Regions from separate parts of the Homo sapiens genome. Here region 2 is linked to region 1. Evidence: promoter capture Hi-C in human tissues and cell types (Jung and others, 2019). All regions are on one chromosome and are shown on one strand. Each heading gives the region's core, a stretch centred on a gene start or on the middle of the fragment in contact. The rest is flanking DNA. Distances are from core to core; before and after follow the strand shown.

Region 1 (6,300 bases), core at 583-3,082:
TGGATTAGGAAATCAATGTGAAGGTCTCAACCAGCATTATTTTTTAAACGAAAATAACAGAATTTTTGAAATATCACAATACATCATGAGTAGTAAAGCTAAGTACTGTTTTCTGGAGCTTTGTGTGTTTGTGTGTATACTTGGTTGTGCCATAAAATGTATTCGTTACTGTAGGTCACAGTCATAAAAGTTTGAAAGACTCTGCTCTAAATAATTCGTATCAACAGGCCGGGCGTGGTGGCTCACGCCTGTAATCACAGCACTTTGGGAGGCCGAGGCGGATGGATAATGAGGTCAGGAGTTTGAGACCAGCCTGGCCAATACTGTGAAACCCCATCTCTACTAAAAATACAAAAAAAATTAGCCGCGCATGGTGGTGTGCGCCAGTAGTCCCAGCTACTTGAGAAGCTGAGGCAGAAGAATTGCTTGAACCTGGGAGGCAGAGGTTGCAGTGAGCTGAGATCACACCACTGCACTCCAGCCTGGGGGTCTGAGCGAATTCCGTCTCAAAATAATAATAATAATAATAATAATAATAATAATAATAATAATAATAATACGTATCATCTTCCTATTTGTAATCCTGAATTCAGAAAGTATTTAATATTTGCTGAATGAACAGATATTCCATTTACAATAACAGCTCATCAATTAGCCATTTTCCCTTGTGACATCTGTGTGCTCCTCCTTGATAATGACGTTTCTTTCATGCTAATTCCACCAGTCTGTAATTCTATTCACTATATCTCCAGCAGCTGGCACAGGGCCTAGCACAGAGGAGATGCTAGGAAAACGTTTATTAAATATGCATAGAACTCTGCAGTCTACCAGCCCCTGTCACTGACAGCTCTGTGAGTTCCTCACAGTCCTGGAACACCTAAAGTCACATCCATCCACTTCTCTCCACCACCTCCCTAATCCAAGCTACCATCGTCCCTCACTCAGAGTGCTTGCTCCTCAACCCATTCTCCATTCAACAGCAGTAACCTTTTCAAAATGCCAATCTAATCACAACACCACCCATGTCAGCTTCTGAGTGGTTTCCCATATGGTTCTTGAAAAACCAGAATTCTTCCTATTACCTACAAAGCCTGCACGGTCTGACTCCTGGCAACCCCTTTAGCTTGTGTCACACAATGGTCCCCCACAAGCTCTCTGTTCCAGCCACAACGGCCTCTTTCAGAACCTGAAATTGGAGGCTGTCTCCATATAGAAAACTCTTCCCTCCCCACTTTGTCAAATCCTTTTTTCTGATCTCAGCTCAATATTCACCTCCTCAGTAAAGGTTCCTTGCCCTGGGGCTAGGTCAGGTCTCCTGTGATATAATCTGGGGTGCCTTGTACCTTTCCGTCTCAATGATCACAACTGCAGTTTTGGATGTTTGATTGAAGGCTGTCATCGCCACGAGACTTGAGTCCTGCTGTATCCCTAGCACAGATTCAACGCTTAGTAAACATTTATTTAATACAAGTATGATATCCATTTTGTAAACGAGAAACAAAGCCTCAGTTCGGGGAAAGACCTTACTGGAAGTCACGCAGAGAGTAGGGCAGAGCCAGGTCGAGTGCAATCAGGGTCTCCGGCCCCCAGGCTCTAAAGTTAAGAAAACCGCGACGTAACTCTGGCGACGGCTTCTCAGGAAGGGCCTCCAGAGACACCAGCGTCCCACAAACAGAGAACCAGCCGCCCCGGCGAGGTGGGCCTAGTTCAAGGCACTCCGTGACTCTGAGCCGAGAAGAGGGGCGGCCCAGCCACACATACACAAGGAATCAGGAAAGGAAAAAGAGGCCAGGAGGCCACACTCACCGCCTCGCCCCACGTTCCGGTACAGCGGAAACGCACCGGAAGTTCTCCAGCTTTGGCGTCTGACTGGAGCGACGGGGGAAGCGGTCCGGCAGAGCCCTGGGTCGCGGGAAGAATGGCCCGTGCCTGCAGGTTCCGCCGGATGCAAGGTTGCCTTTTGTTATTCTTAGTTTCTCGTTTTAGCTTCTGAATTGTGAACAACTTTCATTAACCTATGCATTTTATATCCCCGTCCAGAAACACAGCCACCAGCCATCTTACTTTGGGCTCAAGCAGTCATGGTCACTAAAGCACAGCCAAGGCTTGTACCAGTGGCTACTATTCAGAAGTAGCCAGTCAGGCGCTCGGTCACTGTCTTTGTCAGCCAGTCTCTATCCCGGTCACAGTGTCTCAGCTTCCAGTCACACTCAGCCCTCGGGGAGAGCCTCAGAAACCCAGCCACCAGCCCAGAGAGAACCAGCGTCAGCCTCCGCTGCTGCAGCAGCAGCGGTCGCCACCTCAGTCCCTCTGGCCATTATCACCCCGTGTCCTTCCTGCAGGCCAAGTCCTAACATCTCAGTCAGGCTATCAACGCACTAGGGAAGGAATCTGCCTGTCTTGTTCCTCACTGTTTCCCTGGAACCGAGCACAAAGCCAGGCACAAAAGCTCAGCTGAGTACATATATTATGCATTTAATTAATAATGATGATAATTTGGTATTAATAAATAACTATTTGTGGGTCTAACCCTGCACTATTAATCAGGGTTCCACCAAAGATACAGAGCCAGTAGGAGATCTATATTAAGTGATTTATTGCCAAGAATTGGCTTATGTGATTTTAGGGCAGGCCACTTGGGTATTTCTTTTTTTGAGACGCAATCTCACTCTGTCACCCAGGCTGGAGTGCAATGGCGCTATCTCGGCTCACTGCAACCTCCACCTCCTGGGTTCAAGCCATTCTCCTGCCTCAGCCTCCCAAGTAGCTGGGATTACAGGCGCCCACCACCGTGCCTGGCTAATTTTTGTATTTTTAGTAGAGACGGGGTTTCATCTTGTTGGCCAGGCTGGTTTCGAACTCCTGACCTCAGGTGATCTGCCCACCTTGGCCTCTCAAAGTGCTGGGATTACAGGCATGAGCCACCGTGCCCGGCCCACTTGGGTATTTATAATCCTTGCACTAACCCTTGTAAGGTATGTGTATTCCCAATTTGCAGAAGAGAAAACTGAGGTTCAAAGAGATGTTACACAGCCAGAGAATGGCAGAGCTAGAATGCAAACCAAGGGCTGTCTGTTCTTATCTCTTGTGCTGCTGCTCCTTAGCTTGTCTGTCACATTTCCTCAGTGACAGCTGGACACGCCAATCTGTCTCGGTCAAAATTTATCTCTTAGTGGGTTGCAGACTAGACCGGGCCCTGCAGTCATGGTTAATCACAATGAGCTGCTGCAGGATTAACCAGAGACAGCCTCCATCAGTCACAGTCATGCTTACCAATCTCAGCCTGTCCTGTCAAGTTTCATCTCCTGCATGAAGAAGCTCAGCTCCCTCTCCACCCCTCCCCACTCCCAGTCTTAAGTGCTGAGCTCTATGGTCTGGTCTCAAAGCTCCCTGTTTCAGTTGGGCTCACCGTCTTTTCAGAGACTCCAGGACACTGAACACTGGTTGTAGAAGCTGTAAATGGTGGCCTAGGAGTCCCACCTTGTGGGTCACATGTCCATTTAGATCAGAATTTCTCAACCTTGGCACTATTGACATTTGGGGCCAGATAAGTATTTGTTGTATGTGGCTGTCCTGTGCATTGTAGGATGTTTAGCAGCAACCCTGGCGTCTACCCACTAGAGCTAGTAGCACCCCTCAGTTGTGACAACCATTGCTAAATGTCCCCGGGGCGGGGGTTGGGGGTAAAGGAGGAGGGGTCATTTCCCCACTCTCAATGCAGTTGAAAAACACTAATCTGGGTGAACTTACCTTTGATTATTCGACAAAAGCCGAGTCAGGATGGTCCTTTATGGGAGACAGAAATATGGATCAGGGTGTATGGGGTCCTGAGGAATCATATGAAGACCCATTGTTTGTAAACCAAGTCCTATTCCAGAACCCTAGGGATAACAGATTGCTAAAGGAGACCTATAGGGAAAATTCAGAGAAGGATTCATAATGTTCCTCGCAGCAATTGCCTCTGACAAGAGACAGAAATCTGGAGAAGGCTGAAGAATCACTTTTCACTGCATAGTCTTTGTATCATTTAATGAATTACCTTTCCAAAGAAAATAAGTATTTAGTATTTGAAAGTATACGGAAATGCTCAGGATATATATACGTGTATATAGATATATATGTACATATATATACATATATGTACATATATATATTTTAAAGTATTTACAAAAGTATGTACAAGATGACCAACTCTGGAAAAATACATACACATGGAAAAGACTCGCTGGTGAGATTTGCAGCAATAAAGGTGGGCTGAGGTGAGTTGCTTGGTGGAATAAAAGGAAAGTGTGGTGTGTGCACCTCAGGTGGTCCAAGGGATGAGTTTAGGTTTTAAGTGCATTGTGGTTGTTAATTTTAATATTTTTGCATTTATTTTATGAAGACCTCCTTTCTTGGCAAATAACATAAGCTTTTCATTTGTGGAAGTAATATAGTTTCCTTTTTAAATGCATTTGCTTTTAACGTGAGTCAATTTATTTAGTTAGTTATTTTATTTTATTATTTTTTTGAGACGGAGTCTCTCTCTGTCACCCAGGCTGGAGTGCAGTAGCACGATCTCGGCTCACTGCAACCTCCGCCTCCTGGGTTCAAGCGATTCTCCCGCCTCAGCCTCCCGAGTAGCTGGGATTACAGGTGTGCACCACCACACCCGGCTAATTTTTTGTATTTTTAGTAGAGATGGGATTTCACTATGTGGGCCAGGCTGGTCTTGAACTCCTGACCTCAGGTAATCTGCCTGCCTCAGCCTCTCAAAGTGCTGGGATTACAGGCGTGAGCCACTGCACTTGACCTGAGTCAATTTAAAGAAAAATAAGTGAATAATGGGACAGGTGGTATGAGGATATGGGAACATATATAGAGGTTCTGGGCAAAGGCCGAAGTTGAGGATTGCTGTATTTTTTCCCACTAGGCTCCCATGTAGGGGGGTTACAGGAAGAGAGACTCCAATGTAGGTACTCTTCTTTCAGGAGGAGGGACCATGCTGTTTCTCCGCTCAATAAGCCCCTCCACGTCCTGGGGCCTGTATGCTTACTGTTCCCTCTCCTAGAATGTGCACCAAAGTTCCTCGCCTTTGTTGATTGATCCTTCTTTTCATTCAGCTCACAGATCGCCTCCTCAGGGAGGCCTTACCTGGCCACTGTATTTAAAGTGGTCTCCTTCAGTGACCCTCCTTCCCTTCTCCCGGTGTATTTCCTTCCTAGTGCTGAGTGCTCTGTAACGGACTGTTTGCCTGTGTTGGCATCTGTTTCCTCCACTAGCCTGTGGGTTCATGAAGGGCAGGGACTTTTGTCTTGTTTGTGTTGTGCCTGGAGAGTCACCCAAGGCCTGGACCACCTTGAGTTCCAAATATTTGTTGCATAAACATGTTCTAAGTTGGGATGTCTCCACTTCAGTTTTAGCCCCTCCCACAGTGCCAACTTGTACCAGTGGCCAAAGTCAGAGAGAGACAGTGAGAGAGAGAGAGAGAGAGAGAGAGAGAGAGAGAGAGAGGAGAGGTGCCAAGGAAGTATGGTTCAGCATCAAACACATTTATTTCACTTATATTGAGTATACAAGAACAGAGAGCACACGCATACAGCACGGAGCACTGAGGTGGGGGAGCATGGGGACGAGAAAGGAGAGAAGGGTGTGAGTAAAAAGGAACAGGACAGCATCGCAATTGGTTGTTAAGGTGCTTTTGAAAAAAAAAATTATTTCGAGTGATGTTGCTCATGCAGTTTCAGGCCAGTCTTGGAATGTGCTTGCAGGATTCAAAAACTGAAACAGGTCCTGGTACTTCCTGTACCCTCAGATGGAAAAGATCCAGAGAAAACAAAATAAGAGAAAATGAAGACCCATGAGATAGCAAAGTAGAAAAAGACCCTGGAGAGCATCTGGTTCTTTCTGCTTATTTTGCAAGTCGGGAAACTGAGGCCCAAGAGGGGGAATGGGGATAGCCTGATGTCACATGGTGAGTTAGGAGCTGAGCCAGGATGGTCACCCAGAACTCCTAACCGCCCTCAGGGACTTTTTCCACTATGCTACATGGCCTCCTGGGTGGAGAGGTGGCACAGAGAGGATGAGAAACAAAAAAGAGAAAAGGAAAAGTAGGTTGAAGACAGACAAGACAAACGTCTCTATTCTCTACAAAGAGAAGGATGGGGAGGAAACAGTGCCCTAGATTCTAGCTTTGCAGGTCCCCTCCTCCCTCGTGGCACTGCCTGCATCTCCGTAGAAGGGAGGTCACAGCATCCGCGGGATGGTGATTTCCCCAAACCCTGGTGGCCCATAAACTCCACAAGCTAAGCCTGGTCACTT
Region 2 (6,409 bases), core at 946-3,445, 160 kb after region 1:
CTGCTCGGGAGGCTGAGGCAGGAGAATCACTTGATCCCTGGAGGCAGAGGTTGCAGTGAGCCGAGATCACACCCTGCACTCTAGCCTGGGCGACAGAGCCAGACTCTGTCTCAAAAAAAAAAAAAAAAGAATATGGATAATTCTCAAAAACATAATGTTGGTAGGAAAAAAGAATATTGCAGAGGATGCAACTTATGTGATGTATATTAAGCTTAAAAACATACAAAGCAATGCTATATATTGTTTAGGGATACTCATACATTTGTTAAAAGTTATAAAGACATGTATTACTGCTATGCTCTGAATGTTTGTGTGTCCCCAAGAGTCATACATTGAAACGTAATCCCAAATGTGACAGTGTTAGAAGATGAGGCCTTTAGGAGATGATTGGGTACCCTCATGAATGGGATTACTGCCCTTATAAAAGAGACCTAAGAGAGCTAGCTGGTCCCTTCCACCATGTGAGGTCACCGTAAAAACGTGAAGTCTGTGAGAAAGTAGGCCCTCACCCCATTGATCTTGGCCTTCCCAACCTCCAGAACTGTGAAAAATAAGTTTCTGTTGCGTATAAGATACTCAGTCTAAAGTATTTCGTGATAGCAGCCCAAATAAATGAAGACAATTGCCATGATAAACACCAACTTCACGGTAGTGGCCACTTCTGGGTAGAGAGGGAGGGGAATGGGATGGAAGAACAGTACATAGGAAATTGCAATGGTATTTGTAACAGTTTTTTTCTGGAATTAGGTAGTATGTACATGGGTGCCTACTATCATATACTGTACTTTTTCTTGAGATATAATTAACATATAAAATTAATCATTTTAAAGTGTGCAATTTAGTTGGTTTTTAGTATATCCACAAAGTTGTGAAACCATCACCACTCTCTAATTCCAGAACATTTCATCACCCCCAAAAAGAAATCCCATGCCTATTGAAACTGCCTTTGCAAAATTATGACTGAGACAGTGAAAGAGATCTAACTTAATCGACTCTACATGCTTCTAACCTCCAAGCTGTCCTTGTTCATTCCTAGGCATAGACTGAACTAACTTTGGGAGAAACTTAGTTTATAGTTTTTATAGGTTTTTTTTGTTTTTGTTTTGATACGGAGTCTCACTCTGTCACCCAGGCTGGGGTTCAATGGCATGACCTCGGCTCACTGCAACCTCCACCTCCTGGGTTCAAGCGATTCTTCTGCCTCAGCCTCCTGAATAGCTGGGATTACAGGTGCCCACCACCACACCCGGTTAATTTTTGTATTTTTGGTAGAGGCAGCATTTCACCATGTTGGCCAGGCTGGTCTCAAACTCCTGACCTCAAGTGATCCACCTGCCTCAGCCTCCCAAAGTGCTGGGATTACAGGCATGAGCCACCGTGCCTGGACGTAGTTTATAGTTTAAAACAAAGACGATAACAGCCCTTTCCAAAAGCAGACCTCTTTCTTGCCTGGAGACTAGATTGCCTTCGTAGGACTAATATTAGCCATAAGATTAGAAATTAAGGTTTAGGAGTCATGCAGCTGGAGGCTACAAGATTCTGACCCTCTCTAAACTGCTCCTAAGATCAATGCTTGAGATATTTTGCAGACCTGCACTTGATGGATCAGCTGGCACCACCCAGATTGATAAACTGGCTCATCTGATCTCGTGACCCCCATCCAGGAAGTGACTCAGCTCAAGAAGACAGCTTCGACTCCCTGTGATTTCATCCCTGACCATTCAGCACTCCTGGCTCACTGGCTTCCCCCAACCCACCAAGTCGTCCTTAAAAATTCTGCTCCCCGAATGCTTGGGGAGACTGATTTGAGTAATTATAAAACTCTGGTATCCCGCACAGCCGGCTCTGCATGAATTACTCTTTCTCTATTGCAATTTCTCTGTCTTGATAAATCGGCTCTGTCTTGGCAGTGGGCAAGGTGAGCACACTGGGCAGTCACACTATTAACCGTTATTCCCCATTCCCAACTTCCTACTATCCCTTGGCAACCACTAATCTACTTTCTGTCTTGATTTATTCATATAAATGGATCATACAATATATGTTATTTTGTGATTGGTTTCCCTCATTTAGCGTAAGATTTTCAAGGTTCATCCATGTTGTAGTGTGAATCAGTGTTATTCCTTTTTATGGCTGAATAATAGTCCACTGTATGGATATACCACATTTTGTTTAGCTATTCGTCAGTGGATGGACATCTGGGTTGTTTCTACCTGCTGGCTATAAGAAATAATAACACGATAAACATTGTGTACAAGTTTTTGTGTGAACGTACATTTTCTTTCTTTTTTTTTTGAGACGAAGTCTCATTCAGTCACCCAGGCTGGAGTGCAGTGGTGCAATCTCGGCTCACATCTCAGCTCACTGCAAGCTCTGCCTCCCGAGTTCAAGTGATTCTTCTGCCTCAGCCTCCCGAGTAGCTGGGAGGCATGCACCAACACTCCTGGCTAATTTTTTTGTATTTTTAGTAGAGATGGGGTTTCACCATGTTGGCCAGGCTGGTCTCAAACTCCTGACCTCAGGTGATCCACCCACCTCGGTCTCTCAAAATGCTGGGAATACAGGCGTGAGCCACCACAGCCAGTGCCCCCCACCTCCCTTTTTTTTTTTTTTTTTTTTTTTTTTTTGAGACGGAGTTTTGCTCTTGTTGCCCAGGCTGGAGTGCAATGGCGAGATCTCAGCTCACCGCAACCTCTGCCTCCCAGGTTTAAGTGATTCTCCTGCCTCAGCCTCCCGAGTAGCTGGGATTACATGCATGTGCCACCATGCCCAGCTAATTTTATATTTTTAGTAGAGATGGGGTTTCTCCATGTTGGTCAGGCTGGTCTCAAACTCCTGACCTCAGGTGATCCGACCACTTCGGCCTCTCAAAGTGCTAGGATTACAGGCATGAGCTACCATGCCCAGCCTCCATTTTTGTTTTGTTTTGTTTTTTGTGTTTTTGTTTGTTTGTTTTGAGACAGTGTCTCACTCTGTCGCCCAGGCTAAAGTGCAGTGGCGTGATCTCTGCTCACTGCAACCTCCATCTCCCTGGTTCAAATGATTCTCCTGCCTCAGCCTCCCGAGTAGCTGGGCTTACAGGTGCCTGACACCACGCCCAGCTAATTTTTGTATTTTTAGTACAGACGGGGTTTCATCTTGTTGGCCAGGCTGGTCTCGAACTCCTGACCTCTAGTGATCTGCCCACCTTGGCTTCCCAAAGTGCTGGGATTACAGGCGTGAGCCACTGTGCCCCGCCTATGAACATACATTTTCATTTCTCTTGGATATACGCCTAGCAGTGGAATTGCTGGGTCATGTGGTAACTCTGTTTTACTTTTTGAAGAACTTCAAAGCAGCGATACTATTTGACAGTCCCCCAGCAATATATGAAGGTTCACTTTCTTCACATCCTTACTAACATTTTTTTTTGAAACGGAGTCTTGCTTTGTCACTCAGGCTGGAGTGCAGTGGCTCGATTTCTGCTCACTGCAACCTCTGCCTCCCCGGTTCAAGTGATTCTCCTGCCTCAGCCTCCTGAGTAGCTGGGATTACAGGCGCACACCACCATGCCCAGCTAATTTTAAAAATATTTTTAGTAGAGACAGGGTTTCACCATGTTGGTGAACATGATGAGAACATTTCCAGGGGAAAACCATTTCCCTTCTGGCTCCCCAACTCCCCCATCTGCTGAGAGCTAGTTCTACTCAATAAAACCTTGCACTCATTCTCCAAGCCCACATGTGATCCAGTTCTTCCAGGTACAACAAGGCAAGAAACCCCAGGATACAGAAATCCCTCTGTCCTTGTGGTAAGGAAGGGGGTTTAATTGAGCTGGTTAACACAAGCCGCCTATAGATGGCAACCTAAAAGAGCACCCTATAACACACGCCCATTGGGGCTTCAGCTGTAAACATTCACCCCTAGACACTGCTGTGGGGTCGGAGCCCCACAGCCTGCCCATCTGTATGCTCCCCTAGAGGTTTGAGCAGCAGGGCACTGAAGAAGCAAGCCACACCCCCATTGCACACCCTTCGAGGGTTCCTGTTTCACCGTCTCTACAAAAAATTTTTAAATATTAGCCAGGTGTGGTGGTGTGTGCCTGTAGTCCTAGCTACCCAGGAGGCTGAGGTGGGAGGATCACTTGTGCCTGGGAGGTTGAGGCTGCAGTGAGCTATGATCCCAACACTGTACTCTGTCTCAAACAAACAAACAAAAATAAATACAAACGTTGTATGATTCCACTCATATGAAGTATCTAGAATAGGTAAATTCGTAGAGACAGAAATTAAAATAAATAGAGGTTACCAGAGGCTGAGGGAAGGGGAAAATGGGGAATGTTGTTTAATGGGTACAGAGTGTCTGTTTGGGATGATGAAAAAGTTCTGGAAATAGGAAGTGGTGATGATTACACTACTTTGTGAATGAACTTAATGTCACTGAATTGTATACTTAAAAATAGTTAAAATGGGTGAGGTGTGGTGGCTTACGTCTGTAATCCCAGCACTTTGGGAGGCCAAGGCTGGCAGATTACCTGAGATCGGGAGTTCGAGACCAGCCTGTCCAACATGGCGAAACCCCGTCTGTACTAAAAATACAAAAATTAGCTGGGCGTGGTGGCCCGTGCCTGTAATCCCAGCTACTCGGGAGGCTGAGGCAGGAGAATCGCTTGAAACCGGGAGGCGGAGGTTGTGGTGAGCCGAGATCGCACCACTGCACTCCAGCCTGGCGACAGAGGGAGGCTCTGTCTCAAAAAAAAAATTTTTTTTAAGTTTGCCGGGTGTGGTAGCTCACACCTGTAATCCCAGCACTTTGGGAGGCCGAGGCAGGCGGATCACGAGGTCAGGAGATTGAGACCATCTTGGCTAGCACAGTGAAACCCCGTCTCTACGAAAAATACAAAAAATTAGCCGGGCGTGGTGGCGGGTGCCTGTAGTCCCAGCTACTCGGGAGGCTGAGGCAGAAGAATGGCGTGAACCCAGGAGGCAGAGCTTGCAGTGAGCCGAGATCGCGCTACTGCACTCCAGCCTGGGTAACAGAGCGAGACTCCCTCTCAAAAAATAAAAAATAAAAAAAAAGTTAAAATGGGGCCGCCACCGCAGCGCCTGCAGAACTTTCGGGCCACGTCGCCGCCTCCTGCTGCTTCGCCTCCCAGGGCCCTCCCTCTCCTCCCCACGCCCTTCACTCCCCTCCGCCTTCCCTCCTGCTAGGCGGCCGGGAAGGAAGAAGAAATTCAGTCAGGATGGCTAAAGGTGACACCAAGAAACCAAAGGGAAAGATGTCTGCTTATGCCTTCTTTGTGCAGATGTGCAGAGAAGAACATAAGAAGAAAAACCCAGAGGTCCTTGTCAATTTTGCAGAATATTCCAGGAAGTGCTCCGAGAGGTAGAAGACCATGTCTGGGAAAGAGAAGTCTAAATTCAATGAAATGGCAAAGGCGGATAAAGTACACTATGATCGGGAAATGAAGGATTATGGACCAGCTAAAGGAGGCAACAAGAAGGATCCTAATGCCCCAAAAGGCTACTGTCTGGATTCTTCCTGTTCTGTTCAGAATTCTGCCCCGAGATCAAATCCACAAACCCTGGCATCTCTATTGGAGACGTGGCAAAAGAAAAAAAAAAGTTGGGTGAAATGTGGAATAGCTTAAATGACAGTGAAAAGCAGCCTTACTTCACTAAGGCGGCAAAGCTGAAGAAGTATGAGAAGGATGTTTCTGACTATAAGGCAAAAGGAAAGTTTGATGGTGCAAATGGTCCTGCTAAAGTTGCCCAGGAAAAGGTGGAAGAGGAAGATGAAGAAGAGGAGGAGGATGAGGAGGAATAAAGAAACTGTTTATCTGTCAAAAAATAGTTAAAATGATAAATTTTATGCTATGTATATTTTATCCATAAAAAAGTAAAGCTAAAGAATTAGGGAGCCCCTGCCAACTGGGAAATAAAAATTAAGCAGAAGCTGGGCACAGTGGCTCACACCTGTAATCCCAGCACTTTGGGAGGTCAAGGCAAGAGGATCATTTGATCCCAGGAGTTAGAGACCTGCCTGGGCAGCATAGTGAGACCCCCCCCCCCCATTTCTATAATTATAGAAATAAATAAAAATGTTAAAAAATTAAGCAGAGTAAAAACAAAAACACAAACACGATAACTAACAGTTGTATTCATTTCTTAGCTTATCTAAGAATAATTGGGAGCAAATTCCTTCAGATATTCCAAGATTGCTGGATTTACTTAGGATTCATCTATACTGTGTTGCTCATGATCTTCCCACATATTCGTGATCACTTTGAGTATGGGACACTAATTGTCTTCACCTTTAGCAGAGCAAAGAGCAAATGATAGGCAAATGTTCTTGGGGGGAAAAATGGAGGAACCAAAATACCCTTTTTTGAACAGGTATAGAACTCCCATCGGATTTATGTAGCTAAGCA

The links. Contacts are between HindIII fragments. The study calls those that stand out against the background at their distance.
Region 2: a contact is called between a fragment that was not itself captured here and the fragment with the promoter of AAR2 in region 1, in 1 of the 25 tissues and cell types used here (mesenchymal stem cells).

What each region holds. Positions count from the first base shown.
Region 1 is chr20:36,232,010-36,238,309 of GRCh38, reverse strand. AAR2 (AAR2 splicing factor) reads right to left here and starts at 1,832. Exons shown (of 4, transcript NM_001271874.2): 1 at 1,807-1,832. It overlaps LOC105372602 (a long non-coding RNA gene), which reads left to right and starts at 1,844. Exons shown (of 3, transcript XR_936695.2): 1 at 1,844-1,952. EPB41L1 (erythrocyte membrane protein band 4.1 like 1) reads right to left here. Exons shown (of 22, transcript NM_012156.2): 22 at 5,511-6,300. The HindIII fragment of the contact is 11,137 bases long and covers 1-5,760 here.
Region 2 is chr20:36,075,414-36,081,822 of GRCh38, reverse strand. It overlaps the pseudogene HMGB3P2. Among named protein-coding and RNA genes, the nearest start is that of NORAD, 28 kb to the right of the region's middle. The HindIII fragment of the contact is 7,705 bases long and covers 1-6,047 here.